Linked DNA regions of Homo sapiens: all the other regions are linked to region 1. Evidence: promoter capture Hi-C in 16 types of primary human blood cells and fetal thymus (Javierre and others, 2016). All regions are on one chromosome and are shown on one strand. The core of a region is centred on a gene start or on the middle of the fragment in contact, and the rest is flanking DNA. Distances in the headings are between cores, read along the strand shown. Region 1 holds the start of LYPLAL1 (lysophospholipase like 1). Region 2 has its middle 9.5 kb from the start of TGFB2-OT1. Region 3 overlaps LINC02869 (long intergenic non-protein coding RNA 2869). Region 4 has its middle 27 kb from the start of TGFB2-OT1. Region 5 overlaps TGFB2 (transforming growth factor beta 2). Region 6 overlaps EPRS1 (glutamyl-prolyl-tRNA synthetase 1). Region 7 has its middle 19 kb from the start of LINC02869.

What was found. Contacts are between HindIII fragments. The CHiCAGO score rates a contact against its expected background, and 5 or more counts as called.
Region 2: a fragment that was not itself captured here is called in contact with the fragment with the promoter of LYPLAL1 in region 1 in 1 of 17 cell types (M0 macrophages); the score reaches 8.9 in M0 macrophages.
Region 3: a fragment that was not itself captured here is called in contact with the fragment with the promoter of LYPLAL1 in region 1 in 1 of 17 cell types (M0 macrophages); the score reaches 7.5 in M0 macrophages.
Region 4: a fragment that was not itself captured here is called in contact with the fragment with the promoter of LYPLAL1 in region 1 in 3 of 17 cell types (M0 macrophages, monocytes and M1 macrophages); the score reaches 10.2 in M0 macrophages.
Region 5: a contact is called between a fragment that was not itself captured here and the fragment with the promoter of LYPLAL1 in region 1, in 2 of 17 cell types (endothelial precursors and megakaryocytes). The highest score is 5.7, in endothelial precursors.
Region 6: a contact is called between a fragment that was not itself captured here and the fragment with the promoter of LYPLAL1 in region 1, in 1 of 17 cell types (total CD8 T cells). The highest score is 5.4, in total CD8 T cells.
Region 7: a fragment that was not itself captured here is called in contact with the fragment with the promoter of LYPLAL1 in region 1 in 2 of 17 cell types (M0 macrophages and endothelial precursors); the score reaches 7.0 in M0 macrophages.

The regions. Positions count from the first base shown.
Region 1 is chr1:219,172,076-219,176,292 of GRCh38, forward strand. It overlaps LYPLAL1 (lysophospholipase like 1), which reads left to right and starts at 1,803. Exons shown (of 5, transcript NM_138794.5): 1 at 1,803-1,906. The coding sequence starts at 1,816. It overlaps LYPLAL1-DT (LYPLAL1 divergent transcript), which reads right to left and starts at 1,713. Exons shown (of 5, transcript NR_038845.1): 1 at 1,395-1,713. RefSeq lists enhancers at 1,634-1,683, 1,764-2,093. The HindIII fragment of the contact is 2,433 bases long and covers 468-2,900 here.
Region 2 is chr1:218,450,083-218,454,110 of GRCh38, forward strand. No RefSeq gene overlaps it. Among named protein-coding and RNA genes, the nearest start is that of TGFB2-OT1, 9.5 kb to the left of the region's middle. The HindIII fragment of the contact is 2,064 bases long and covers 1,581-3,644 here.
Region 3 is chr1:218,520,830-218,524,706 of GRCh38, forward strand. It overlaps LINC02869 (long intergenic non-protein coding RNA 2869), which reads left to right. Exons shown (of 3, transcript NR_146760.1): 2 at 2,524-2,621. Among named protein-coding and RNA genes, the nearest start is that of LINC02869, 13 kb to the left of the region's middle. The HindIII fragment of the contact is 4,426 bases long and covers 1-3,682 here.
Region 4 is chr1:218,467,850-218,471,901 of GRCh38, forward strand. No RefSeq gene overlaps it. Among named protein-coding and RNA genes, the nearest start is that of TGFB2-OT1, 27 kb to the left of the region's middle. The HindIII fragment of the contact is 4,047 bases long and covers 663-4,052 here.
Region 5 is chr1:218,366,100-218,369,887 of GRCh38, forward strand. All of the region lies in intron 1 of TGFB2 (transforming growth factor beta 2), which reads left to right. Among named protein-coding and RNA genes, the nearest start is that of TGFB2-AS1, 22 kb to the left of the region's middle. The HindIII fragment of the contact is 3,691 bases long and covers 1-3,676 here.
Region 6 is chr1:219,997,038-220,001,140 of GRCh38, forward strand. EPRS1 (glutamyl-prolyl-tRNA synthetase 1) reads right to left here. Exons shown (of 32, transcript NM_004446.3): 17 at 4,101-4,103; 18 at 1-305. Among named protein-coding and RNA genes, the nearest start is that of EPRS1, 47 kb to the right of the region's middle. The HindIII fragment of the contact is 193 bases long and covers 1,781-1,973 here.
Region 7 is chr1:218,489,396-218,493,309 of GRCh38, forward strand. No RefSeq gene overlaps it. Among named protein-coding and RNA genes, the nearest start is that of LINC02869, 19 kb to the right of the region's middle. The HindIII fragment of the contact is 3,592 bases long and covers 1-3,424 here.

The sequences.
Region 1 (4,217 bases), core at 553-3,052:
CTTAAAGCCTTCCCTGTATATCTCCAAGTGGTCTTTCCTAGTAGCACTGCCCTCTTCTCACCTGGCTAGGGAAGGTTATCTAGAACTCATACGGGGAAGGCAGGTCAAAAGACAGAGGTTTTTCTTTTAAGAATTGGCTATCAGAGCTCAGCCTACCCTAGTTTGTCCTCCTCAGGGACTTCACTTATACAACTCTCTGCTGCAGATCTATGGGCTTTGGAGAAATGACTCAGAATTTCTTTTTGATTTGGTTAACTAATGGCATGTAGGACCATTCTTGTTGATGGTATTGTTATTAATATAACACCATGATAGCTTAGAGCTGATTTTGGCAACTAATGTTGATAGTAAACAGTTTACTTACCTGTAAGTAGGGTGATTACCTGGAACAAATAAAAGGTAAGTTGTAATTGCTAAAATGTAATGCAGACTACAATGAATGGAAGGCCAGTGTTTAATGGTACTTAAGCTTTTACTGGGTTATTTTGTTGAATTTTACATGAGGCAAGAGCAACCTGCTGGGGCCACTGCCTTCAGTATTAAAAGATACCTATGTTTTGGACTTTATACAGGAAATAATTCCATTTCTTAGTATTTTTAAAATTATGGTAAAATACACATAAAATTTACTAGGTGTATAGTTCACTGGCAGTTATTAACACTGTTGTACAACCATCATCACTGTCCATTTTTAAAAATGTTTCACTATCTAAGCAGAAACTCTTGTACTCATTAAACAACAACCTCCCAACTCCCTCTTCCCTTAGTCCCTGGTAACCTCTAATTTCACTTTCTGTCCCTATGCATTTGCCAATTCTAGATATCTCATGTAAGTGGAATCATACAATTATTTGTCCTTTTGTGTCTGGCTTCACTCGGCATAATGTTTTCAAGGTTCATCCATGTTGTAGCATGTATCCGAATCACATTCTTTTTACAGGCTGAATAATATTCCATTCCAATATGTACATAGCACATTTGGTTTATCTCTCCATCTGTAGATGAACATTTGAGTTGTTTCCACTTTTTGGTACTTGTGAATAATGCTGCTACAGAACACTGAAGTACAAGTATTTGTTTGAGTCCCTGCTTTCATCTCTTTTGGGTATATACCTAGAAGTGGAACTGCTAGTACCTATGCTAAGTCAATGTTTAACTTGTTGAGGAGCCACCAAATTATTTCTATTGCCGCAACATCATTTTACATTCTGATCAGCTATGCACAAGGTTTCTAATTTCTACACATCTTTACTAATACTTATTTTCTGTTTTTTTGATAAGAGCCATTCTAATGGGTATATAAAGCAGAATCTCATTAAATTAGATTTGCTTTGTAAACTATTTATTAAAAATAAGAGACACGAAGAGAACTTATTATTATATGCTTCGCTTACCCTGTATATCAAGAGCTGCAAACATCCTGTGCGAGTCCCAAAGTGAAAGGTAAAATATGGTTCTATTAAATTTTAAACATAGTAACACGAATATTTCTCCAAATAAGGTAATCTTGAGTTTTGGGATTGCATTTAAAATTCCTACAGCAAATGCTCAGGATATAAACATATCCATTAGTCATTACAGAAGTCCACACGAGGCTGACACACGTAGAATACCATTATTAGCAAAACTAAACTCAGTACAGTTACAACTGCCTCAAACTTGACCCCAAAGTATTGAAAGCTCCTCAGAGAGCGGGCCAGCAGCGCTGCGCATGCGCGCTCCCGGGCGTGCTCCCGCGCGTGCCTGCGTATTTGCGTGCGCGGCCCCGCGCGGCAACGCAGGGGCGGAACCGCATGACTGGCAGTGGCATCAGCGATGGCGGCTGCGTCGGGGTCGGTTCTGCAGCGCTGTATCGTGTCGCCGGCAGGGAGGCATAGCGCCTCTCTGATCTTCCTGCATGGCTCAGGTGGATTTCAATTTTACGTCCTGGTTTTCTACAGCTCGGGAAACATCCTCCCCTCGGTTACCCCAGTATTGCCCAAGTGGAGGTGTCGCCGGGCCCAAATAGGGCCCAGTGGGTGGCTCCCCCGTCGCCAGCCCCGGCTGTAGATGCACGGGCAGCGCCACCTGCCCCCAGCCTCCCCCGTTAGTCTTCCTCTTTCTATCGGGCGGTCACTGGTCCACCACCCTCGCTTTGGGGCCTTGTGTCCCGCCGCTCAGCCAGCCCTCCATCCCCACAACACACCTCCCCATTCCTCGCCCCAAGTTTAAACAGAGCAAGTTAGTAAGGTAAGTCTTCTGCTAGAGGGAAATTATTTAGTGTTTTTCATTATCAGCTACTAGTGATTTTTCAGTCGTAATTGCCCATTGCTTTTTCCAGGCTCCCATACTAATGTAGACAATTGAGATTCACAGTTAACTTAGATACTGTTTACAGATTATCTCTTTTCTGTAAGCCACTGTGCCATGGCTGGAGTGCTTTCTCTCACTTTCCTTTTTGCTGCTTCTCTTTCCTTCCTTTCCCTTTCCCGCCTGTGTCATTAAACTTCCAAGATAGACTACAGGGGCAGGACCCCCAGGGACAGGCATCTTCCACTACCTGCCCTTAGTAACGTGTGCTTAATGCTGTATCGTTACTTAACACTCATCTGTAATCACTTTTGTCTGTCTTCCCCACTGGATTGTGAACTTCCCACTGGATTATGAGAGTAAGGGCCCTTGTGTCAACCTTTGCACCCCCAGTGCTTGGCCCAGGGTAAGCTCTCAGGAAATGTTTTTTAAAGAAATGAGATGCAGCCGGTGTCCTCAGGGGGCCTACCTAAAGTTAAAAACAAAAACAATCCAATTAGTTTGAGTCAGCAGTGCATGGAAGATCACAAGACGGTGCATGGTTTCCTGCCAAGTGAATTGTAAGAGAAAAAAATGTGGTTAGGCATTATTAAGGCATTTGGAAGATGAAAAGCTTGTCAGACTTTTCGAAGAAAGTGGTCTTTGAGCCGAGACGGGTAGGCTTAAATGGGACGGTGATTGGAAGGGAATTGGAAAGGTACTGGGCAGAGACCTGGAAAAGGGCAATTGTGGGAGGTATTCTCTTTATTTTGAAAATGAGGCCAGACAGGTTCAGCAGCTTGGCCAAGGTCTCTTAGCTGTTACTGTGAGTAGTGGCGGATTTGGGATTAGAACCCAAAGCTCTCCGACCTCAAACTCAGGGCTTTGGTGGGGTAAGGTGAAAAAGTTTGAACTAGGATATATTGTTTTGGAGATAGGGAAGAAGAGGTCCAATAGTGTTTAAAGGGAAAGACGGCATATATTTAGAAGGTGACGTGTGTAAGATGACAGCGGTACTTAATAACTAGGAGACTGGTAGTACTATTTAGGGCTCCAAGAGTGTTCATTTATAAGTACCCAGAAATTCCCCAACACTGTACCCTTTCTCATAATCAATTCTCATTATCTTTAGGAAGAACTCCTAGACTATGTTCTTTTTTCCCCTGGACCTCTTTGCTTAAAATAATTATCCTTTTTTTGAATTTCAGATTACATTTTTATAACCTGTAAGGGTATGTCTCTAAAATTCAGAGTCATGTATGTATGTATTTTTTCCTTTGTACTTTGAACCAAGAATTTATTCAAAGAATTCTGCCAAGTATGCGAGTATAATGTGATTCCTATATATTTAAATCTCCACTGAAGTAAATAAAACCTTATTGGGAGTAGGTCTTTATCATCTTTATCGTTGGGAGTAGGTCTTTATCATCCAGTAGGTCTTTAGCAGCTAGTGATTTTACATTCAACTTTAATGTATGTGGTTATGTTATAGGAGATGTTTGGTTTCTGCTTAACTAGAATATGGGCAAACCAATTCTGTTTTATCACACTCAGTTTTGCCATACTGTTAACCAGTTTTAACACTTTTACTATGGAATAAAGTACTAGCTTTTTAAAAAGTGGACATTGGGAATGGATAGATGTTGTTTTGCAGCTGCATTCTTACTCTTCGAGGCTGAAAAAATGTTGTTAAAGACAGATTTTGTGTTTTCAAATAAAAAACCTTAAAAGCTTGAGATTTTCTTCTAGGAGATAGCAGCCATAGAAGAACATATGGGAGTGTAAATTATATGTAGCCAACTTAATTTGAGCCTTTTCTATTAATAAAGTACTAAAGACGGACCTTCTTTTAAGATGATAAAAATAAATGATAGGTTAATGAGTTTTGTTCAGTCTCTCAGATCAGATTAATTCACTCTTATTTGCTCCCATAGGACACTGGTTCTTCT
Region 2 (4,028 bases), core at 1,363-3,862, 720 kb before region 1:
GAAAGAAATCAGTTGGCTGAACTTAGGTCATGAGCCAGTTCCTTTGCTAGAACATGGGATTTTAGGGAAAGAATCTGAGTTCCTTGGCTTCTGTGGTAGGAAGAGAAACAGGGAGTAGTTACTCTCCCAGCAAGACTGCCTACATAAAGAGAAAATGGTTACACAAGAAAAGTTAAGTTTGTTAGGAAGAAATATGGAGGCTGGGCCACAATGTTTAGGTATTAGTTTGCTGGAACTGCTGGAACTAAGTACCACAAACTGGGTGGTTTAAACAACAGGATTTCATTGTGTCGGTTCTGGAGGCTAGAAGTCTAAAATTAAGGTGTTGACATGGGTGGTGTCATCTGAGGGCTGTGAGGGAAGATCTGTTTCAGGGCCTCTTTTCTTGGTTTGTAGATGGCCATCTTTTCCCTGAATTTCTTCACACTGTCTTCCCTCGATATGTGTCTGATCTTGTGTCCAAATTTCCCTTTTATAAAGACGTCAGTCATATTGGATTAGGGCCCACCCTAATAACTGCATTTTAATTTAGTCTCCTCCATAAAGACCCTATTTCCAAATAAGGTCATATTCTGAGGTACTAGGGGTCAGGACTCCAATCTATCCTTTCTAGAGAGGACACAATTTGACCTATAACAATTTAACTCTGAACTGCAGAAGAGAGTGACTATTAATAGTTATTTCTGGGGAAATTCAAGGAATAATAAACTGAATGAAAAATGGGCTTTACCAACCTGCTAAAGGCCAGATATTTCTGCCAGTAATGGGGAAAAATTTGAGTCAATTAGATCAATCTCTGTAACCCGGTCTTCTTTGTAAGACACTTTGAAAAAGTCTAGAGTTGTAGACTTTCAGAGCAAACCTCGCACATTTCTGTATGGATGGGCACTTCCCCCTGTACTCACTGATCCCAAACCAGGGCACACAACAGTCACCTTGACAGCTTCTAAAATTACAGATTTTCAGGTCTATCCCAAACCTACTGGGTCAGACCATTTGGGGGAATAGAAAGGGAATTTTATAGTAAAGGAGAAATATATTCCAGGTAAATCTGATGCAGTACAATGCTAGCATTTGTCAATTACTAACCAAGTGGGATATAAATGTATGAGGAAATCTTCGCAAAAATGAGGCCATTTCAATGAAAGATATTTTCATGATAACTGCAAATATTTGAACTACTATCAGAAGATGAGGATCTATGATGTGGTCTGGTAACAGACTCATACTCACTTCTCCAGGAATCTCAATCATATCAACTCCATGCTCTGTTAAGAGATGGTTGTATATCTGCCCAGATCTCTAAAAGCAATGTTGCCCATCTCTAAAAAAAGAAGCATCTTTCTCCCCATTCTATTGCATGGCAAGGTCAGGGTTGGAGGCCTTGGGAAAATGTCAAATATCAAACATGAAATGTTTAGAAGATCACGGTTTGTCATTTCCCAAAAAAGACGTATCCTAGGACAAAAAGGAGAATTGTTCCTTCACATGATGGTGCCTGCAAAAGGTTGCCATGGAAGTCTGGCGATTGGGGCAGTCTGTGATCCATCATCTCAACTAGACATTTCCTGTGGGCTTGAAGCTTTCTATGGGAACTTTTTTGAATGTTTCTCTTGTAGAGAGCCCTTCCCTGGTGGCAGCTTTTGATTTTACTTCCCCAACTAATGGTTTTGGCTTTGCTAGTAGTCCCCAGCCAACTCAGTCTCTTCAGTTAAAAAGAGCAATTCAATTCTGCAATTTTCTTTTCCAAAAATTAAATTAATGAGTTGATTAGTTTTAGGTAGCCAAAATAATAATTATTATTTTTACATGTTCAACAACTGTTTTGGTATCTGCATATGCACCTTTAATGAGGAATGTTTCTGAGGTAAGAGGAACATTATCTGAGCTTACTACATTTGAAATGAATGTTTTCCCTACTATGTTGTAGTGTTTGGTTCAAGCATCTGTTTTCCTCCCCAGCACCTGTCTGCCTGGTGCAGAGGAAAGGAGAATGAATAAGCAAAGAACTGATTTGTCTGCGTAGCCCAGTATTTACTACTTAATTGGTTGCCAGGGACCAGATTGCCACAGTTTATTTCTGAAGAAAACAGACGTTGCAATGAGAATGTAAGTACTTGACCTCTGGAGTCGTGCGATAAAATGTGTGAAAATGTCAACTCATAGTGCCTAGCACACAATAGGTGCTCCACAGATGTCCGTGTCCATTCTTCTTCTCCCTAATCATGTTATATGCTTACCTCATGACATCTTTCTTAGTGGCAAATCTCCCCCTACAGATAGCTTCTATGCTTTCTTCAAACCCATTCCAATGATGCTTGCTTGACAGCTATTACCTGGCCATCAGGCAACACTTGTGTAAGTTGCTCATCAATTAGGAGGCACTCACCAAAGCCAGCCCAGGTTCATAGATCCCTCTTCTATACTCACAACTCACCAATTACCCACTTCTTTTGGAAAGCTGCCCTGGCTACAACTGTGCCAGAGCACCCCAGAGGGGAATTGGCCATTGTCTGATGTCCTTGGAGGAAGGAAGGCATCTGCATTTTTAAGGGAAGGGGAAGACAGTGGTGTCCTGACACCTGTTGAAACTTTGGCATCCTGGGAGTTCACTCAGCTGGTTCTTAAAGGTTGTCTGTCTCTTGCCATGGCAGAACACAGTTGTTTTTAAGGAATGTTTGGATAAAACATTTTCCAGGCCACATTTATCCCCCTGCAGGACTATGTTATATGTGACAACATTCCAATTTTGAGGCATGACTTGTGCCAATCCAGACCGGCAATTAGAGCTGACACATTCCATGAGTTATTGGTCAAGCCCTCAAGAGACCAGAAAGAAAACAACAAAGGAAAACTTTACCAATAAAGGGAACCAATTGGAGTTGTGCATGAAGCCTTCAAACAGAAGTTTCTTCCTCAACTTCTCTTGTCTTGTACTGTCTTACTATGTCTTCTGCCTAAAACCTCCACAAGTCTAGGTGGGACATGGTGGTGTGTTGGATGCTGTGCAGTGTGGCTAAATGTGGTTGATCTTCGTGGTACAACACTTGAACATGGACCACCTGAGCTGGAACTTGCAAAACTCAGGAACCATTTCTGACAAATATAGTTCAAAACCTCAAGTCACATCCAGTGACATCAAAGCCTGAAAGCAGCCCTTACACTATAAAGTGCAACAGAGGTGCATGGAAAGAATCTGTCTGCCCCCACCTCCATGACAATCTACTAATCATCCGATGTACAACGTGCACAAATTATGTAGTGAACCAAAATCCCTTCTGGAGAAGGTGCTGTGACATCATTTTCTAATTACAAATACCATTAACTTTTACCTAAGTCTCTCACACAAACAAAATGCTATTTCAAGGTTTCTATGATCTTTGGAAAAATCAACCAGGAGTTCAAAAAGGAAGCCTATTCCATGGATGGTTGTGGAAATTTCCATAGTTCTAGGGGCCTGATTCTCTGATCACTGACCTATTTTTATCCCCTGAGTATCTATGCAAGTATAATTATAGGATGTATTCATTGAACCATTTGAATTAATAGGAAGTCTAAATGCAAGCTATCATTTAAGAATGCAATGTCAATGTTTTCAAGTATTCAGTGTGCAGTGACTCTAGAACAAAGTGTTATATAATAGAAGCTTTGGGAAATCACACAAATGATGTAGATAAGACGCAGAAGAACTATTTTTAATTGTCAGCTTTTGGTATGTAAACAGCTTTTGAAGAGTTTTAAATTATTATCACATATGTTTAATAAGTTCAGTGCAATCTTTTCAAGCTTTGTTAAAAAAAATTATTTCTGATACCACAGTCAACATACTGTCTTGGCACTATTTTAAAAATTCATGTTCTCTCCTTAAGCAGAATGAATTTATACACTCTCTCTACCGAGAAACAGTACACATTGTTGGGCCAGGCACAGTGGCTCACGCCTGTAATCCTAGCACTTTGTGAGGCCGAGGCAGGTGGATCACTTGAGGTCAGGAGTTGCAGACCAGCCTGGCCAGCATGGCGAAATCC
Region 3 (3,877 bases), core at 220-2,719, 650 kb before region 1:
ACATGGGCCACCATGCCCGGCTAATTTTTGTATTTTTAGTAGAGACGGATTTCTCCACATTGGTCAGACTAGTCTCAAACTCGTGATTTCAGGTGATCCACCCGTCTTGGCCTCCCAAAGTGCTGGGATTACAGGAGTGAGCCACTGCACCTGGCCAGTAAGACTTATCTTAACACACTTTTTGTTGCTGTTATTTTTGGCACAGACCTTTTTTTTTTTTTAATCATTTTTGGAATCACAATTGTCTTTTTAACTTTGAAGTGTTTTCCCTTATATCTGGAAGACGGGGCGGGTGGTTCAGTGAGGTATCTGAGTTGGTGGAGATGTCTATGTTGGAAGGCAAGTTGGGAAGAGCAACGCAGAACATGGAGAAGGCTACTTTGGGAAGTTGTGGGGGTGCAAATGATATATTTTCTGCTGTTGAGAAGTCCGGTTAGCTTTGGCTTTTGAGAGCGTCACTCTGGGAATGTGCATATGTCTGTGTGTGGGGGCAAGAAGGAGGCCACACCAGTGGGATTATAAAGAGGCTTTGAATTGTACCCCCACCACTCCACCAGAATTGTTAGAAACTTAGTTCCCAGATATCCACTCAACCCTCTTTGGCAGGATCCCTGGGAGGCTCAGTTGTCCTTCTTGGAAGCCAGTAAAATTCTTTGTTGGTGGTTGTGGAGGCCAGCATCTGATCAGCTGCTCAGTAGCCATAGCTGCTGCTTCTGTTGCCCTGGCTGCTGGACTTGGAGGCTTCCTGGTTGCTAGTGACTTGGCTTGCGCGGCTGCGCCCTGTCCCTGCTGGGGCTGGTTTATGTGGCTCTGATGGTTATACATGCCGAAGTCACTCCTCTCCTATGTGTTCCTCAAGTGCTCTTCACAGTGGAGCCAGGAGAACCTTACTGTTCTTTCTTCAATTCCCAGTATGGCCTCACTCTGTTTCTTGCAGCGCCCCCTAGTGTTAGCACACTTTCATTCAGTTATCTTTTCCATCTGTCTCTTGGCTCAAGTTCCTACAGATCAGGGTAGGAATCACATAGGATTGTCCTATTTAGCAAATAAAGATAGAGAATGTCCAGTTAAATTTGAGTTTCAGATAAATAATGAAGAATTTTTTAACATAAGTATGTCTCAAATGTCACATGGGACATACTTATACTAAAACATTCTTCATTGGTTATCTAAAATTCAAATTGAATTGGGTGTCCTGTATTTTATCAATAAATACTAGATTCAAATTAGTGATCTTCCCATTTCCAAGCCCCTCGTTACACTTAGAATATTGCTAGTGTAACAGATCGCATATGGAAAAGAAAGAAATTGGCTCCTTTTTAAAGCAAATTTTAGTATACAAGTACTCTGAGCAATGCAGCTGTGGACCAGGGCTAAGTTAATATGCTTTTTAAGAAGCATGGTTTCCTTAAAGTTTAATATCCAAAAGCTAGCTCCATAGTATTATAGTTTGAATTTCCAAAAGCGTGGACATTGAATTTGGCTTGCGAATAAATCTTTAGGAATTGAATAACTTTTTATTTACATCAAATGAGTAGTAGAATCTAATGATTCAGACATCTGAATTGTGAAAAGTCAAAATATTTGTATATTGATTGGGTCATACAAGGTCATTTTATGGGAAATGTAATGTGAGCAATTATTTTCTTTTTTTTTTTTTTTTTTTTTTGAGACAGAGTCTCGCTCTGTCGCCCAGGCTGGAGTGCAGTGGCATTATCTCGGCTCACTGCAAGCTCTGTCTCCAGGGTTCATGCCATTCTCCTGCCTCAGCCTCCCGAGTAGTTGGGACTACAGGCGCCCGCCACCACGCCTAGCTAATTTTTGTATTTTTAGTAGAGACGGGATTTCATCGTGTTAGCCAGGATGGTCTCGATCTCCTGACCTTGTGATCCGCCTGCCTCAGCCTCCCAAAGTGCTGGGATAACAGGCGTGAGCCACCGCACCCGACCTATTTCCCTTTTTTTTTTTTTGGATGTAAAAATGTAATTCATTTTAGGGGGAAGGGACATTGTGTCTGCATGGTGGCAACAGTTTAGTGAACAGATCCACAAACGTCTGTCAATAAAAACAAACAACTTCCCAAAAGTCCATCAATGGGACAGCTCCACATATCCAGATAGATAGATACATCGAAAGATAAATAGATAGATAGATAGATAGATAGATAGATAGATAGATAGATAGATGATAGAATGAATAATATTCAGCCATCAAAAGAAAGGGGATTCTGATACATGCCATGGCATGGATAAACCTTGAGGACATTATACTAAGTGAAATAAGTCAATTACAAGAGGACAAATATCACATGATTCCATATATATATATGATAAGGTATATTCTAGATGCTTATAAAAGAAAGGTACCTAGAATAGTTAAATTCATAAAGACAGAAAGTAAAATGGTGGTTGCCAGGGGCTAGGGGGAGGGGAGAAATGGAGAGTTGTTTAATGGTGTGAGTTTTTTATTGTATTTATTTATTTATTATTTATTTTTTAAGACGGAGTCTCATTCTGTTGCCAGGCTGGAGTGCAATGGTGCAATCTTGGCTCACTGCAACCTCCGCCTCCTGGGTTCAAATGATTCTCCTGCCTCAGCCTCCCAAGTAGCTGGGACTACAGGTGCGTGCCACCACCCCCTGCTAAAAATAAAGACAAAAATAAACTGAGTCTGCAGAGGTTAAATAAATATTCGAGGAACAAGTGTTTTAGACAGGGAGACAAGAGAGCTGCGAGCAGGGAACTTTAATTCAGAGAATTTCGGTTTGCTGAGAACATGAAGTGTGAGGAAGGCCGGAGGGAGCTTCAATAACTACAAACATGTTGCTTTAATAATTTGATTACAGATTGAGAAAAAAGGTTTATTTTCTTACTTACCCATCATTTTGACAAATTAGAGTAATAAGGGAGATGTGTGGATAAGGATTTCTGACAGCACTGGCACTGGGGAAAACAAATGTCACTAGCTATCTCAGTAGGAGCTGCACAAAATGCAATTTCCTTTTTCGTTCCTTTTGTATTTCCTGATTTTACCTACACGTGTTGTTCTTGCTATATGAAGTCATAAGAATATTTAACTTCTAAATGGGGGACAGAAATAAATGAGAATAGTCAGACTCCAAATATAACCATTTAGAGCAATGATAAAATGATATTTCAAATTAATGAATAAATCATTTATTACATGCTACTTCCTTAAACAATGTCTTTAACATGATGTTAATGACTCTCTTTTAGTAAATTGTTCTCCAGGTAATTCCCACCTGATATTTTTCTCCAAGAGACAATTTTAGTCCCCAGGAAGAAGCCTACATTTTGACACTTTTGCAGCCAAAAGACTGGGCGGTTTTTTGGCTGACACCATAATTTTAAGAAGTGGTTTTTCTTTTGTAAAAGTAACCTGGAGTCTTCAAACAGCTGGCAACTTTTGGATTTTTGTGTAAAATATTTAGGGAAGAAATGTGAAATATTCAGTATAAAATATCTCAGTTCATAAGCTGAGGTGCTACTGATTTAAGTAAAGTGGAGAATAAAATAGAGTCAGTGATTTACTCAGTTTACTCATTCATCCCATTCATTGATTCACTGGGCAAATATGAATCAAGGATTTACTAGGTCAGGTAGTATTTTGAGTTTGATTTTGGTGGATGAGCAGTCAGGCCTTTTGAGTGGAGATACTGTGAAGCTTTTGTTTCCCTGGTAGTTTTCTTTTTTGTATGAATTATCTAGATAATTGTGTAAACCTTCATATTAACTTTGGCTGTATATTGAAGCAGATAGTCTGAGTCCTAACACTGAAATGATACTCCAGTACATTGAGAAGGAAGAAAGCAATGTTACCGATGCTTAAATGCCACGGCATCCTGCCCACAAGAGGC
Region 4 (4,052 bases), core at 1,436-3,935, 700 kb before region 1:
TTGACAGTAACTGCAATTCTTGGATTATGCTTGTTATCACTTCCTTTTTTTTATACCCTTGACAGTGACTGCATTTTTATCTTCATTTCTCATTTATGTCAACTGGTAGCCAGAGTAGGACAATCATACAGGAAAAAAGAAAAAAATACAAATAAAAAACCTAGAGAAATCCCAAGATACTAGAAGCTTAGGGAATAGAGCCAAGATTTGCAGGTCACAGCCACCATCATGAAGCCCAGAGTGTAAAAGTCACCCAGAAGACTAGAAGGAAAATTCAAGGGATAGCTGACTCCATTTTTAATATTTTAATCTTTGTAAATGCAATGCTAGAACTTTTTAGAAGAAAATGACGTCTTGTTATTCTTACGTATATAATGTTGATGAGGCTACTGTCTCTTAATTCATAGGTGTACAACCTTTCCACTTATAGGGAGCCTTCCTTTGGTCCATGATGGGTGAAGTAGCAACATGGACATTACAGCTGTGCTTTTTCCAGTGTCGTCTTTGCACTCTGTTTCCTGCAACATGTTTTGTTTTGTTTTGTTTTGTTTCGTTTTTTGTACTTCATGAAGGAATTTCTTCTCTCTCCTTTTATTTTCTGTATATAAGTTCAGGGGTCAAACCTGCCTGAAATAAATTAGAACCTCCCAAAAGGACAACCAAGCTTATCAGATACCCATAGTTTATAAGTGTCATAATATGATGCAGAATGTTTTGAGGTTGGTGATGGAATAAATGTTATGTTTTTTGAGCAATTACCATCATCTGTATAAAGTTTTATTTTAGAAAGCCTAAGAAGAAAATTAAAAGGTCAAGAAGAGACCAAATCCTTTATTCTTTTACTATGGGAATGTGTCATTAACAGAAAAAAAATTGTGAAACACTTATTTACTTTAAAAGATACTTAGAATTTAAATTATATATAATCTGGGAGATCTTTTCTCCTGTGTAGTTAGTTACTAGTCACAGGTCATTATCTCCAAGAGTGTAAATCAGACTTCCTCTATTGTTATTTTCTCAGAAGCTGCTTAAGTCATAGCTCTTCCTTTAATTCCGCTTTATACTCGTAATTAGAAGTGCTAACACGATAAATGTCTACAGTGATGTTGAAAAGAATGATGGTCACCTGACCTTTTCTTCTATGTTAAATATGCTAGTTCCTGTTTGTTATGACAGAAGTGTAGCACAATAGTTAAGATTATGGGTTATGGAGACACACATATTTTTCTCATAAAGTCATGTGTGTGCGGCTGGGTACAGTGGCTCACACCTGTAACCCCAGCTTTTTGGGAGGTTGAGGCTGGAGGATTGCTTGAGGCAAAGAGTCTGAGATCAGCCTGGGCAACACAGCAAGACCTCGACTCTACAAAAAACTAAAAATAAAAAATTAGCCAGGCTTGGTGGCACATGCCTGTAGTTCTAGCTATTCACTACTTGGGAGGCTGGGGCAGGAGGATCACTTGAGTTCAGGAGTTTGAGGTTACAGTGAGCTATGATTGTACCACTGCACTCCAGCCTGGGCTGGGCAACAGAATGAGATTCCATCTCTTAAAAAGAAAAGTCATATGTGTATAGAAGTGCTCCATTATTAAAGGAAAATGGTATAAATGAGATCAGCTTGAAGCAGGTATTGAAGGCAAAGGTAAATTGCACATGCAAAGGCACAGATGTTGACTAAAGAAGAAACGATTTCAGCCTGGTTTATAGATCGCTCTTGATGATGTGTGGTCAATGCCCAAAAGTAGATAGCTATATCCCTATAGCCCCACTCTGGGGTGGCCCTAAAGACTGTGGTAAGGAAAAAACCTACCAGCAGGCAGAACTTCAACAAGTGCACCTAGTTGCTCATTTTGCTTGAAAGGAGAAAGGGCAAAAAGTATGGATGTACAGTGACTCATTGACTGTATCTATGAGTATATCTGGAAGGTTAGGGACTTTGAAGAAGCCCTATTAGAAAATTAGTGAAAAAGAGGTCTGGGGAAAAGATTTGTCGATGGACCTCTTTGAATTTGCACCAAAGAGCAGTCTAAGCAGAGGAGGATCTCAATGATCAGGTGTATGAGATAACCTGTCTTATGGACATCAGTCAGTTTCTCTCTCCAGCTACCCCCATCCTTGCCCAAGGGGCTCTATGAAGAAAGTAGGCATAAAAGAAAGGGTAGAAGTTATGCATGGGCTCAGCAACATAGATTTCTACTCATTAAGGCTGACTTGGCTTCAGCCACTGCTAAGGGTCTGTCCTACCAACAGCAAGAACAACACTTGTATGGCACCACTACCTGGTGGGTTTAAGAAGGCACCTGGTTGGAGGCTGATTATATTGGATCAATTCCATCAGGTTACAGACAGCACCAGCACTTTGTTGTTACTAGAACAGACATTTACTCTAGATTTAGATTTGCCTTAACTTCCTGTAGTGCCAATACTACCATCTATGAACTCACAGAATGCTGCTATCACTACACATTGCTGCTGACAAAGCAATTCAGTTTACAGCAAATTAAGTGCAACGTGGGGCTCATACTCATGGAATTTAGTGGTCTTTCTATGTTCCCAATCACTATAAAGCAGTCGGCATGGTAGAACAGTGGGATGGCCTTTTGAAGACTCGGATACCGTGCCAACTGGATGTAAATAACTTGGAAGACAAAAGTAATATCCTCCAGGATGTTTTATTTGCTCTAATTACTGACTAATATATAATGCTCTTTCTGCCAGAGATAAGATTTACCTATTTAGGCAAATGCACCTCTCGAATCCTGGAATGGCAAATCCTCTCTATGGGAATAATAGTTATTCTCCTAGACATAAACTAGTGGAATTTTTGTTTCCTGTTCCTGCTCCGTTAGTCTAGAGGTTTTAGTTTCCAAAGGAGTGAGCACAGTAATGATTTCAGTAAACTGGAAGTTGAGAATGCTACCTGAGCAGTTTCATATGGAGCACTGTGGCAAAGTAAGCCAGTTCTTCTGCAGGTTATACACATATCACTGAAGTTGAGGTTTGGGGGTGAGAGGATAACACAGGTTCCAGTTCATCCTCATAGATTCCAGCTTATTCTCATGGATTTAGTTTGTCTTTGCTCTTCCCTACTTTATGTCTGTCTTTCTTTCTTGTCAGCCTGCTCTGTGGACTTTAAGCCCAGCACCAAATGCAAAAGCAACAGCAGTAAATAGTCTAGCCCGTTCCTCTAACTGTATGATGTCAAATATATATCACTCTTAATAATTTTCTCTGATTGAATCTTAACTAACCAATCAATTGGGAATCCAATATCTGCCTCTAACTATACATGTGAACTTAGGCGAACATCTCTAAGCCTAGGTTTCCTCATTTATAAGATAGGAATAACATTAACTACCATATAGGATTGTTGTGAAGATTTTATGAGCTAAGGGCTGAGAACTCTGCAAGGCATATAGGAAGCACTCAGTAAGTAGTTACCACTATTTACAAAACTTGGCTTTGACTCCAGCTGATTTTACATAGCATCATGGAGTTTTGGACTGGAAGAGATTTTGAGAAGTCATCTGAACCGGTAGCTTGGCCTAAAAAGTCCAAACTTCCCAGATCTTACCCTTCCTGGCTTAAAGTCACTATACTCAATGTAATTTACAAGATGTGTACTGGAGCGCAATTCATTATTGTTTATTACCACTGAGAGAGAGGTTTTAAAACAAACATTAGATTTTACAATTTGAATGTTGTTCTTCAAAGTAACTTTTCTAAATTTGTTTCCTTCTTCTTCTATAAATAAGGACATTGGAAAAATTTATTTTCAAAGTTCCTAAACTGTAAATTCTAAAATTCTGTAAAGATTAACTGAAAGGCTATTTATTCATCTAATAAAGATGTCTTTGCTTTAAAGATATTTTTGGGGTGTTTCTGCTTAAACATCGTCTTCAGAATTGGTTTTTGAGGCCCATCCAGAATAAGTATCTCATTTCATTATCGCTAAATCTTGTTTGTGACTTAAATGCAGTTTACATTATGAGATGGCATGAGAAGACTTGGGGCTGTTTCTAAACATCTAAGGATGAAGATGGACCATCATT
Region 5 (3,788 bases), core at 581-3,080, 810 kb before region 1:
ATAATATTGGTTAAGATGTGGTTAGCCTGCCTAAAGGTTTTCCTATTAAGACATAAGAATCCAGTGTGTAAGCAGTAGAGATAAGTCTCTCTATGAAGGAATGGATTAATAGTCATGAAGGCAAATATAATTTTTTAAAAAGAGTATTTACTGAATAAGAGGCTTTTAAGTAACTTGGTTAAGATTTAAAGGTGGTATTTCTCTCTCTCTCTCTTTTTTTAGAGACAGAGACAAGGTCTCTCTGTTGTCCAGGCTGGAGTGTGGTAGCATGATCATAGCTCACTGTAACCTCTAACTCCTGGGCTGAAGCAATCCTCCCACCCCAGCCTCCTGAGTAGCTAGGACCACAAGTGTGCACCACCACACTGGCTAATTAAAAAAAAAATTTTTTTTTAGAGATGGGGTCTTGCTATATTGCCCAGGCTGGGCTCAAACTTCTGACCTCACACAGTCCTCCTGCCTCAGCCTTCTGAAGTGCAGCGATTATAAGACATGAGCCACTGCGCCTGACCCGAGGTGGTGTTTCTCAAAGTGTGATATGCATTTCTGTCTCCTGGGACATCCATCAGATTTCTTGGCCCCATTTCAGAGCTGCCAAGTCAGAATCACTGGGGTGGGTGGAGCTGAGGACTCTGCACATTTTAAACAGGCACTGCAGGTGCTTCTGACGTCACTAAAGTTTGCAGCTGCTCAAGTCAAAGGATGCTCTGATTATGCACATCTGTTTACTCAGTCATACCACATGGATGGATTCAGATCCAGTGGACTCTCTGTTTGATCAGCTGGTCCTTCAAGTGTGACCCTGAACCTACAGCCCCTGTGGAGTTTTTGCCACGTGCTTTCCATTTTCCCAAATGCAGGCAAATATTGAGGTAGTTTTTAATAATATTACTTGTTATTAAGAGTACCACACATACCCTCTGCTCACTGTTCATCACAGAGGAGAACAATGAGTGTGCAAGGAAGTAAATTAATCGTGTGTGGGTGTTGGATGTTATGTATTTCTGCACTCAGATGCCTTCAACCGGGCAACGGTGGAGTGGGGAAGGGACTTTCAAAGCTAGTGTTTAATGCATAAGTGACACATACCATGTATAAGGTAATATGTAATTCCCTGAGGTAGCATTTGGCCAAAGCGCTGCTGACCTCTTGGTGGCCTGAATCGTGTTCTGAGACATTCCATGGGGTAAGGACCTAGCAAACAATGGAATGTAAACTTTACTATCTCAGCCAAACTCAGCTTTGGGTAACTGCAGGTTTCTCTTTCCAAACAGTGTTTTGTTCAACCAGAGGCATTAGAGCAGGCAAGAATCTGACCAACCTATTAAGAAGCAAAGTTAATGATAAATCACTTGGTATTTTCTTTGTGCAACCCTGTGCCCCCTGGTATTCTGATGTTTTTGAACCACCTAATACTTTGAAGACAACTGTACAGTATGGATATTCTATAACTACCGTAGATTTTTTGGCTATTGAACTATTTACAGAAATACCCAGTTCTCGTATGTGGTCTACATCACTAAATAATCTGATTGAAGTGTGAGAAGAATGACTTGATAGTGTTCATTTTACCTCCGCATAAGTCTTCAGTTAAAAGAGCTGTACATTAACTGCAAATACAGATATAATTTTAAGATAAATGTCAAATGCATGTAGAGACCTTTGGAAGAGAAAGGTGAAGAGAGGACGTTCATTTTTTTTCTTCTTCTTCTTTTTGAGATGGAGTCTCGCTCCTCGCTCTGTCACCAGGCTAGAAGGCAGTGGTCCATCTCAGCTTACTGCAACCTCCGCCTCCCAGGTTCAAGCAATTCTCCTGCCTCAGCCTCCTGAGTAGCTGGGACTACAGCCGCACGCCGCCACTCCCAGCTAATTTTTGTATTTTTAGTAGCGACAGGGTCTCACCATCTTGGCAAGTATGGTCTCGATCTCTTGACCTCGTGATCCGCCTGCCTCAGCCTCCCAAAGTGCTGGAATCACAGGCATGAGCCACCGTGCCCGGCTGAAGAGAGGACATTCTTATGATATATTAGTTCATTCAGCTGTATTTATTTTATTTTATTTTGAGACGGAGTTTCACTCTTGTTGCCCAGGCTGGAGTACAGCAGCGTGATCTCGGCTCACTGCGACCTCCACCACCCGGGTTCAAGCAATTCTCCTGCCTGAATCTCCCGAGTAGCTGGGATTACAGGCACACACCACCACACCTGGCTAATTTTTAGTAGAGACGGGGTTTCACCATGTTGGCCCCACTGGTCTCGAACTCCTAAACTCAGGTGATCCACCCACCTTGGCATCCCAAAATGCTGGGATTACAGGCATGAGCCACCGTGCCCGGCCTATTCAGCTGTGTTTATTGAGTATTTACTTGTATCAGGCAGCAGTCTAGCTGCTAGTGAATTGAATAGCAAAAATCCTTGCCCATGGGGAGCTTACATTCTGGTGGCATAGGATAGATAATCAATAATAAAGATGAAATAAGAATTTAGAATTGGATAAATGTTTTGCAGGGGAAGTAGAGATTGGTCACAGGGATGAGGATGTGAGGTGTAATTTTATATAAGCTGGGCATGGATGAATTTGTTAAGAAGGGAGTGCATGTAAGCAGACACTTGAAGGATGTTAGAGAGTAATCTGGGACTACCTGGGGAAGGGCATTCTATTCTGTTCCATTCTGGCAGAGGGAATAGCTGGTTCTGTTGTGACATGTTCAAGGATTGTCAAAAGTATCCTAGGGATGAGATTAGAGAGATAATGAGGGATAAGTGATGTGGGGCCTTGTAGGCCATCATCAAGTCTGTGGCTTTTCCTCTGACTAAAACGGAGAGAAGAGTGGTTTTAGCCAGAGGGCCGTGTAGCTGTTAAGAATGGTATGTTGGGCCGGGCACGGTGGCTCATGTCTGTAATCCCACCACTTTGGGAGGCCGAGGCGGGTGGATCACAAGGTCAAGAGATCGAGACCATCCTGGCCAACATGGTGAAACCCTGTCTCTACTAAAAATACAAAAATTAGCTGGGCATGGTGGCATGCATCTGTAGTCCCAGCTACTCAGGAGGCTGAGACAGGAGAATCACTTCAACCCCGGAGGTGGAGGTTGCAGTAAGCCGAGATCGTGCCTCTTCACTCCAGCCTGGGCAACAAAGCAAGATTCCGTCTCAGAAAAAAAAAAAAAAAAAAAAAAAAAAAAAAAAAAAAATGGTATGTTGAATGGCCAAGGTGGAAGTAGGAAATTCAGTGAGGAGGTCTTCGTGATGCATCAGGATGGCACTTGGCAACTGCATTTCTATAGCAAGAATCTCAAACAGACCTGCCTTATGCTGAGTTTTTCCTTTAGCAAACAGTTTGATAGGCAGGCTACAGTGGGTTTTGTATTTAGAAAATGTTTTTCTGTTTGATGGTTTTTAGTTAATAGTCCTTAGTTATTGGCAACTCACCCCCTTCCTTTCTGAGGAGCAGCCAGTTCTGCAGCCTTCTGTGTGTGAAAATAACCCCTTGGGTCTCCCATCTTGTGCTCACGCATGTGGAATGGCAGCTACTGGAGTTCGTACTCGCGGTGAAGCCTAGTCATGGCCGTCTTTGACATGATGGCCAGGGACATGTGGCACTATACCCATAGCTGACCATACTTTGGCCTAGGAGAATGTCAAACTGCCTTTTCCGGTGTGAAATAGAAAGTCAAGCTTGGAAGGATCCTTCTTTGGATCTGTCCAGCTGTGCTCTGCATGCAATAGAAGGGCTTTTGCCTAAACTTTGAAATGAGGTCATAAGCCAGAGAATTTGTAAAACTATG
Region 6 (4,103 bases), core at 627-3,126, 830 kb after region 1:
TCATCATACAGAGATTTACTTTCCAGAATACTTGCTGAGGAATTAGAAGAAATATTCTGTCCTATTTCAGCAGGAGGGTTTCCAGGTTTATATTCCTGGCCAGTTTTCTCCTTATATTCAGCTTTCAAAGACAAAAGCTGTTTTACAGCTGCATCTACATCTTCCTTTGGTGCTTTCTTGGCTTTTAATTCACGAACCACATCTCCTTGAACAGCCACTCTATTGTAAAGGACCAAGGAATCCTCAGATGTAGTACAATTATTATTCAGAGAAGGTGTTGGTCTTTCCTTAAAAGGAGCAGAGGTCTACCAAGAGAGAAAACCAAAAGTAAAATAATTAATTCATATTAAATGTTTTCCCACAAAATTATTTCAAACTGATTGTTTTATAATGTTTCCAATTAAAAACAGAAACTTTAAACTTCAATCCCTTAAAAAGCTTAAATGAATAATCTCCTAAGTATTTATCCTAATGAAAAATGACAGGCGTAAACAAAGATAGAGGTACCTACATACTCACTGAAGCATTTTTACTATAGTAAAAACCTGAAAATACCCTAAATCTTTGTCATTAGGGGACTAAAGAAATTATAACATATCCATCAAGTTTGAGAATAAATCACTGCTCTACCACATACTCACTGTGCAACTTTGAGTTATTTTAAGCTGTTTCCTTACTATAAAAGGGGGATAACCATACTTAACCCATCAAGTTGATGGGAAAATAAAAAGTAATCTGTGTAAAGCCCTTAGTCACAAAGGCTGAGAAAAAGTGAATATCAATAAGCATTAGGTATCACTATTAATTTTTTTAGAGATGAAATACATCTAGATTGTTGATAAGGCAAGAGCTCCATCAAACTCTGTGATATAATTGTAACTCATTGTTGTGGAACAGTTTCATTTGTGTAAAATTATAAATTTACAGGTATCTATTTGTGTATAAAATCTAGAGCTATGTTCACTAAAATCAACCCTGAAGAGTGAATAAAGATACTATTTTTATTCATGCTTTCTGCTGCCTAGACTGCATTCTTCCCTACTGAAACCCTTCTAACATTAAAACCCAGCTCACATTATACCTTTCTTTCAGCTTTTTTCTTTTAAATGATCTGCCACTTAATTTTTCAGAATAATCTTATCCATATTCACAGTCTTATGTACAAATTCCAAAAATTTTCATCTCTATTCCAGAATTCTGTCCTGATCCCAGACCCAGCATTTTCAATGTCTTCAAGACATCTTTACCTAGACACTTAACAGGCATCTCAAGCTGTATCAGAGTTGCATTTTACACAGGCGTTAGGCTCTCAAAGTGGGCATGTCAGTAAAAAAAACCCATCGCTCAAAATTCCTTCCCCATAATTCCTTAAATCACTCATATTTATTTTTAGTGAGATTCTATATGTACACTCAAACACTAATATGCATATATAAATGCATATACATTAAATAAATAATACAATTCATGTAGCCACCCTATATCAAAAATATATATTTGTTCAGCTACATTTTTTTTTTTTTTGAGACAGTGTCTTGCTCTGCCGCCAGGCTGGAGTCCAGTGGTGTGATCTCAGCTCACTGAAACCTCCGCCTCCCGGGTTCAAGTGATTACTGTTCCTCAACCTCCCAAGTAGCTGGGATTACAGGCCTGCACCACCACACCCAGCTAATTTTTACATTTTTAGTACAGACAGGGTTTCACCATGTTGGCCAGGATGGTCTCAATCTCCTGGCCTCGTGATCTGTCCACCTCGGCCTCCCAAAGTGCTGGGATTACAAGCTTAAGCCACTGCGCCTGGCCTGTTCTGCTACATTTAATTTGCAACATAAATCATCTCATTCATGGTTAGTAAACAGGGGAACATATGAGTGTAACACCAAAAAAAAAAAAAAAAAAATCACACTGCCTTGTGTGTGATTTTTTCCCTGTGTATTCCAGTTTTATGTCAAATAAAGAAGCATGCAGGAACAAGCTTTTCATAATTAAAGAGAAAACTTTAGAAATACATTGACAATCTGAAGAAAAACCCAAAAACCTTTCATATAAGTGCCTTCCTTTAATGAGGATGATGCTTAAAAAACATTTTTTACCATAACATTAAGCCCTGGATGAGAATTTAATTTTGATAGTATCAGCCTCTATTGGAGAAAAATATCCTCAAAGATCTACACATCACAGGGAAAAGCATTATTATCCTTCAGGTTTAAAGCTGCAAAGGATCTCTGACTGCAAAGTTGGGTATAAGTGGCAGTCAACTGTACCTGAATATTGAATTTCTATTCAAAAGTGTGCAGGTTTCAAAGCATGTCCACAAATTTTTTGACTTTCCTCCCACCAAGAAGGGGGATCTCTGTGCCCTTTCCTGAATCTGAGAAAGCTTGTTACTGATTTGACCAACAGAGTACAGCAGAAATGATGTTATGTGAGACTTACAAGTCTAAATCCTAAAATGCAATGCTACTCCCACCTCATCTACTGGACACTCACTTTTGGAGGCCTTAAATGATAGTTAAGAAGTCTTATTACCCTGCCACTGTCATGCTAGAGAGGCCACTTGCAGCTATTGCAGTCAACTATTCCACCTGAGCTCCCAGCCAACACCAATATCAACTTGGCATCCAGGTGAGGAAACAATTTTAGAATCCAGCCCAGGCCAGGTGCAGTGGATCATGCCTATAATCCCAGTACTTTGGGAGGCCGAGGTGGGCAGATCACCTGAGGTAAGGAGTTCAAGACCAGTCTGGCCAACATGGCGAAACCCCATCTCTACTAAAAATATAAAAAAATTAGCTGGGCATGGTGGTGCGTGACTTTAGTCCCAGCTACTTGGGAGGCTGAGGCAAGAAAATCGCTTGAAGCCAGGAGGTGGAGGTTACACTGAGCCAAGATCATACCACTGCACTCCAGCCTGGGCAACAGAGCAATACTCTGTCTCAAATAAAATAAAATAAAAATAGAATACAGCCCAGTTGAGTCTTTGATGACTGCTACCCAGCCACCATCTGACTGAAACCACATGGGATACATAGGTTTTTAGTGGTTTGCCTCAACTCTGTTTTTCTTGAAAAATCGGCTGTTATTTTCGGTATGTGATTTTGCAGAACATGAAGTTTTTCAAGAACACATACTAACTTATAGCATAACACCAGTTATCTTTCTAGGATATGTAAAAAATGATAGGCACAGATGGGAACTGGAACCAATGAGGGAAAAGCAACCAAATTTCCCATCTCATGCTTACTCCATGAGTTATTGAATAATATATAGTAGCAATTTTCAAGGTGTGGTCCACAGACCCCAAGGGGTATATAAAACCCTTTTAAAGGGGATCTGCAAAGTCACAGCTATTTTCACTATATTACGATGTATTTTGTCTTTTTCGCTCTCATTCTCTCATGACTGTTTGTACAGGTTTTTAGAAGCTATTAAGTCAGATATTAAAGAGATCTGTAAAAATTTAAAACCATACCGCTCTTTTAACTAAAATTTTTATTTTGGAAAATTTTTTTTAATAAAAACTTTTCGTATGTTAACATGTAACTGGATTTATTATTTTTACATGAATTAAATCCTTTTAAAACTTCTCAATTTTTAGTATGATAAATGCTGATAAATATAACCCACATAAGCAAATCATTCTTAAGAGTATAAGGGGTCTGGCCAGGCACGGTGACTCATGCCTATAATCCCAGCACTCTGGGAGGCCGAGGTGGGAGTTTCACCTGAGGTCAGGAGTTCAAGACCAGCCAGGCCAACATGGCAAAAGCCTGTCTCTACTAAAAATACAAAAATTAGCCGGGCGTCATGGTGCACGCTTGTAATCCCAACTGCTCAGGAGGCTGAGGCATGAGAATTGCTTGAACCCGGGAGGCGGAGGTTGCAGTGAGCCCAGATCGCGCCACAGCACTCCAGCCTTGGGTGAGAGTGAGATTTTAAAATCTTACATGAAAGGATAACAACAAAATGCAAAGAGCAAGACTTAACTGTCTTCTTCAGTCTCCACAGTAAGAAAGATAATCATCTGTAAAGAAATATATTCTAAACCCTGGGATAGAAAGACCATTTATTTTTATACACATATCCGTAAAAGTCATTACCTC
Region 7 (3,914 bases), core at 379-2,878, 680 kb before region 1:
AGATGTGTTCTAGCTAAAATCAACCAATAAACAGAAAACTGGTAACCCATGTCTGATGTTCTAATCCAATGTTGTTGTTGTTTTTATTTCATTGTTCTTGGTGAATTCTATTGAAAAGCAAAGATTCTTTTCAAATTCAAAGAAATTTTATTATATTATACAATGACTGTGTAAAAATTAAGATTATATAGTGAAGCACACTGAGCAGGGATGATAAATAAAATATTTCACTAGAAATGCATTCAACAGTCAGAACAGATACTGACCATAGACAACTGCTATGTTTGTACTGGTGCATATTAATACCAGCCCTGCTTCTGTGCTGAGCTCACTGATTTGTGTTACATGAAAATCACACTATATATCTCTTACAGGTGAAGATCAACACATAAAACATCTAAATTACATTTAATGCCCATTATACAGGTGAATAACAACATCAAACACAAGAATATTTATTCTTTGTCCCAACTTCATCCATTTCATCTTCTCTACTAGACTATTTCTATTAATATAAAAGCATATTGTATATTATGTCTTCCTAGTTAAAAAAACACAAAAAAAAGCCCAAAGCAAAATATTTCCTTTATACTATACTATCCTCTGTCTACTCTGTTCTACTTCTTTTCCTTATAGCAGAATTTCTGGAAATAATTTTTTCACACTCACTGTCTTCCTTTCTCTTTCTTTTACTTGCTCCTGAATCTCCTTTAATTGGGCTTTCCTCCCTCTTCTGAAAATGCTCTCATTAAAGTTACCAGGGTCATGCTCATTGCCAAATCAATGGGCACCTCTCAGACCTCCTCCGTGTGAATGTTTGCAGTATTCAATGCAGTTGCAGTTGGTTTCACTCTCCTTATTGAAGCATTCTTCTTAGCCTTCTTTGCTGAATCCTTCACTTTTCAGTTTTGAATGACATGTACACTCTTGGAGATCTCATCCAACTCCCAGACTTCAGTGACTACTTCTACAGAAACCTCCCCAACAGGGAGGCCTTCCTTGACCACGCACCCTGCAGTAGCAACCATTGCCTGTCTTTAGTCTCTTGCTCTGATTTGTTTTTCTTCATAGCACTTATTACTACCTACTGTTCTATGATCTATCTAGCTTATCTCTATTGTTTGCCTATTGTCTGTCTCCTCTGCCAGAATACAGCTCCAGAGGATAGAAACTATCTTGTTTACTGATGTTATTTTAATACCTGAAAAAAGTGCCTGTCCCAGAGTATGGACTCACTAAATACTTGCTGAGTAAATAAATGAATGTTCACAAATGGGGACTAAAAGGCTAACAAGCAAGATCTTTTTCACGCTATGTAAATTTATGAAAAGTGACCTTATTTTAATTTGCAATGGCAAATTATGGAAGGGCTTGGTCAGGTCTGCCATGGGTCAAATCCAGCCATGCTTGCTTGCTTGCTTGCTTGCTTGCTTGCTTGCTTGCTTGCTTGCTTGCTTTTTCTTTCCTTCCTTCCTTCCTTCCTTCCTTCCTTCCTTCCTTCCTTCCTTCCTTCCTTCCTTCTTTCTTTTCTTTTCTTTTCTTTTCTTTTTTTTTTGAGACAGCGTTTCACTCTGTCGCCCAGGCTGGCGTGCAGTGGTGCGATCTCAGCTCATTGCAACCTCTGCCTCCCAGGTTCGAGCGATTGTCCTGCCTCAGCCTCCGGAATAGCTGGGACTACAGGAGCATGCCACCATGCCTGGCTAAATTTTTGTATTTTTAGTAGAGACAGGGTTTCACCATGTTGGCCAGGCTGGTCTCTAACTCCTGACCTCAAGTTATCCACCCACCTCAGCCTCTCAAAGTGCTGGGATTACAGGTATGAGCCACCGTGCCTGGCCTACACATTTCTTTTACATATTGTCTGTGACTGCTTTCCCATTGCAGTGACACAATAGAGTAGTAAAGGCAGAGATAATGTATGGCCCACAAAGCCAAAAATACTTACTACCTGGGACTTTCCAGAAAAAGTTTGTTGGCCCCTGGTTTATTATACACATTAGGTAGGCAGTAAAATGTAAAGGTTAAGAGTATAGCTCTGGAGCCAGATGTCCTAGGTTCAAATGCCATTTCCTCCTTTGCCCTGCTGCAGCCTTAGTTAAGTCACCTCTCCTCATTCTGTCTCAGTTTTCTCAACCATTAAATGGAGATAACACCAATACTAACCACACTGGGTGGTTGTGAAGATAAAATGAGTTAATACTTGTGAAATACTTAAAATCTTCCAGAAATATACTCATGAATATTACTGTATGGTGAGAAAGTAATTGAAACTGGTTTGAAAGAATTGAGGGCAGGTATATCAAAGTGTAGCTATGTGCATTTAATTTATCCTGACAGACATATTACAAACGACTAAGTTCATTTCCCTCCTTCACTGGTTCATTCTGTTGGATCTTGGGTTAGTTGGTATGAACAGATACATTTTCCTTCTGTTGCAGATGGAAAAATTTACACGTAGACTGTGTTTTTCCTTAACTAATTTTTGCGGGATACATACAAAAAGCAAATAATCGGTGTGTCATCTACTGTCTGTTTTGATGGAATTTGGGAAAAAACTCAGCTGAAATCAGACAGACAGGCACTGTGTGGGAGTCTCTATGACGATTTGTCTGGTGGTCCCCTTTTCACTGGATTTTACCCTGTTAGGTGGACAGTGTCAAAGGCATCCTAGGATGACTCCCCAAGCATCCTCGTAAATTTCCTCCTCTGGTCTTGGTCTTCACACTTGGAATCTCTGGTGTGATTTGTCCTGTCTGCTCTTCAGTGTCCAGGTCAAGTTCTTCCTCTTCTGGGATGGCTTCCAGTGAGCTCTCCATTCTGTCAATGCCTGTGACCCATTCACTTGTCCCCTAGCTGAAGGCACTTGTTAACTTTTTAATTTTTAATCTTCTAAAAAACATCCTATTTTCACTAACTAGAGTTCTATTTGATTGAGGTAAGGGATTGAACCTTCCTCCTTGGTATGCTCAGCACGTAAGAAGAGTGCCCTACACAAAGCATCTGCTTGGAATTGGCTACCATCGATCTATCAATGGAAATTCTTTTTTTGTTTGTTTGTTTTTGAGACATAGTCTCACTCTGTCGCCCAGGGTGGAGTACAGTGGCATCATCATAGCTCACGGCCCTCATGAACTACTGGCCTCAAGGGATCCTCTAAAAGTGCTTGGTTTAACAGGCATGAACCACTATGCCCAGCTAATTGACAGTAGTTCTTAATGTGGTTTCTGGGGTGCAGCACCTGCCAATGTCTTCTGCCTCCTGCATCTTGTTCTCACGTTCTGTGCTCTGGCTATCACGCTCCAACCTTCCATGCTCACGTCCTCCTCATGCTAGTCCCTATGTCTGAATTGCCCTCTCCTCATCTTCACATTGTCAACTGCCAGTCATCTTTCAGATATGAGTTCAACAGTCACTGCTTCAAGGAAGCTTCTGGAACAGGTTTTCTCACTGTAGACCAAGACCATGTTGGGGCCTCTCCTCAGACTGCTCTGCCTTTTCCTTCATGGTACCATCATATCCATAGTTATAGACTGAATTTTTATGTGGTTATCTGGTGAATGTCTATCTCTTCTACTAGAGTGAGCTCTCCATGATGAAGAACAACGTTTGCTTAAATGACATTTTATCTCCAAGATCTAGTGTAGTGATTGACTCATAGTTTTTGAATGAATGAGCAGTGAGTAGCTGACAAAGATAAGGGGATTATTACACTCTTGCATAGTGGGAAAATGTATTCCATAAAATTTTGCTGACTCTCTTCCATGTGCCAGTGCTGCGCTGGGTGTTGGGGATGCAGCACAGAACAAAGTAGGGGTGGGAAGAGGTGAGATGCAAATGCACAACTTTCCACTTTATATCTGTGCTTAGTCCAGTGGACAGCGAGGGTTTCTCTCTTAGTGAGCCTGGCTTGGCTT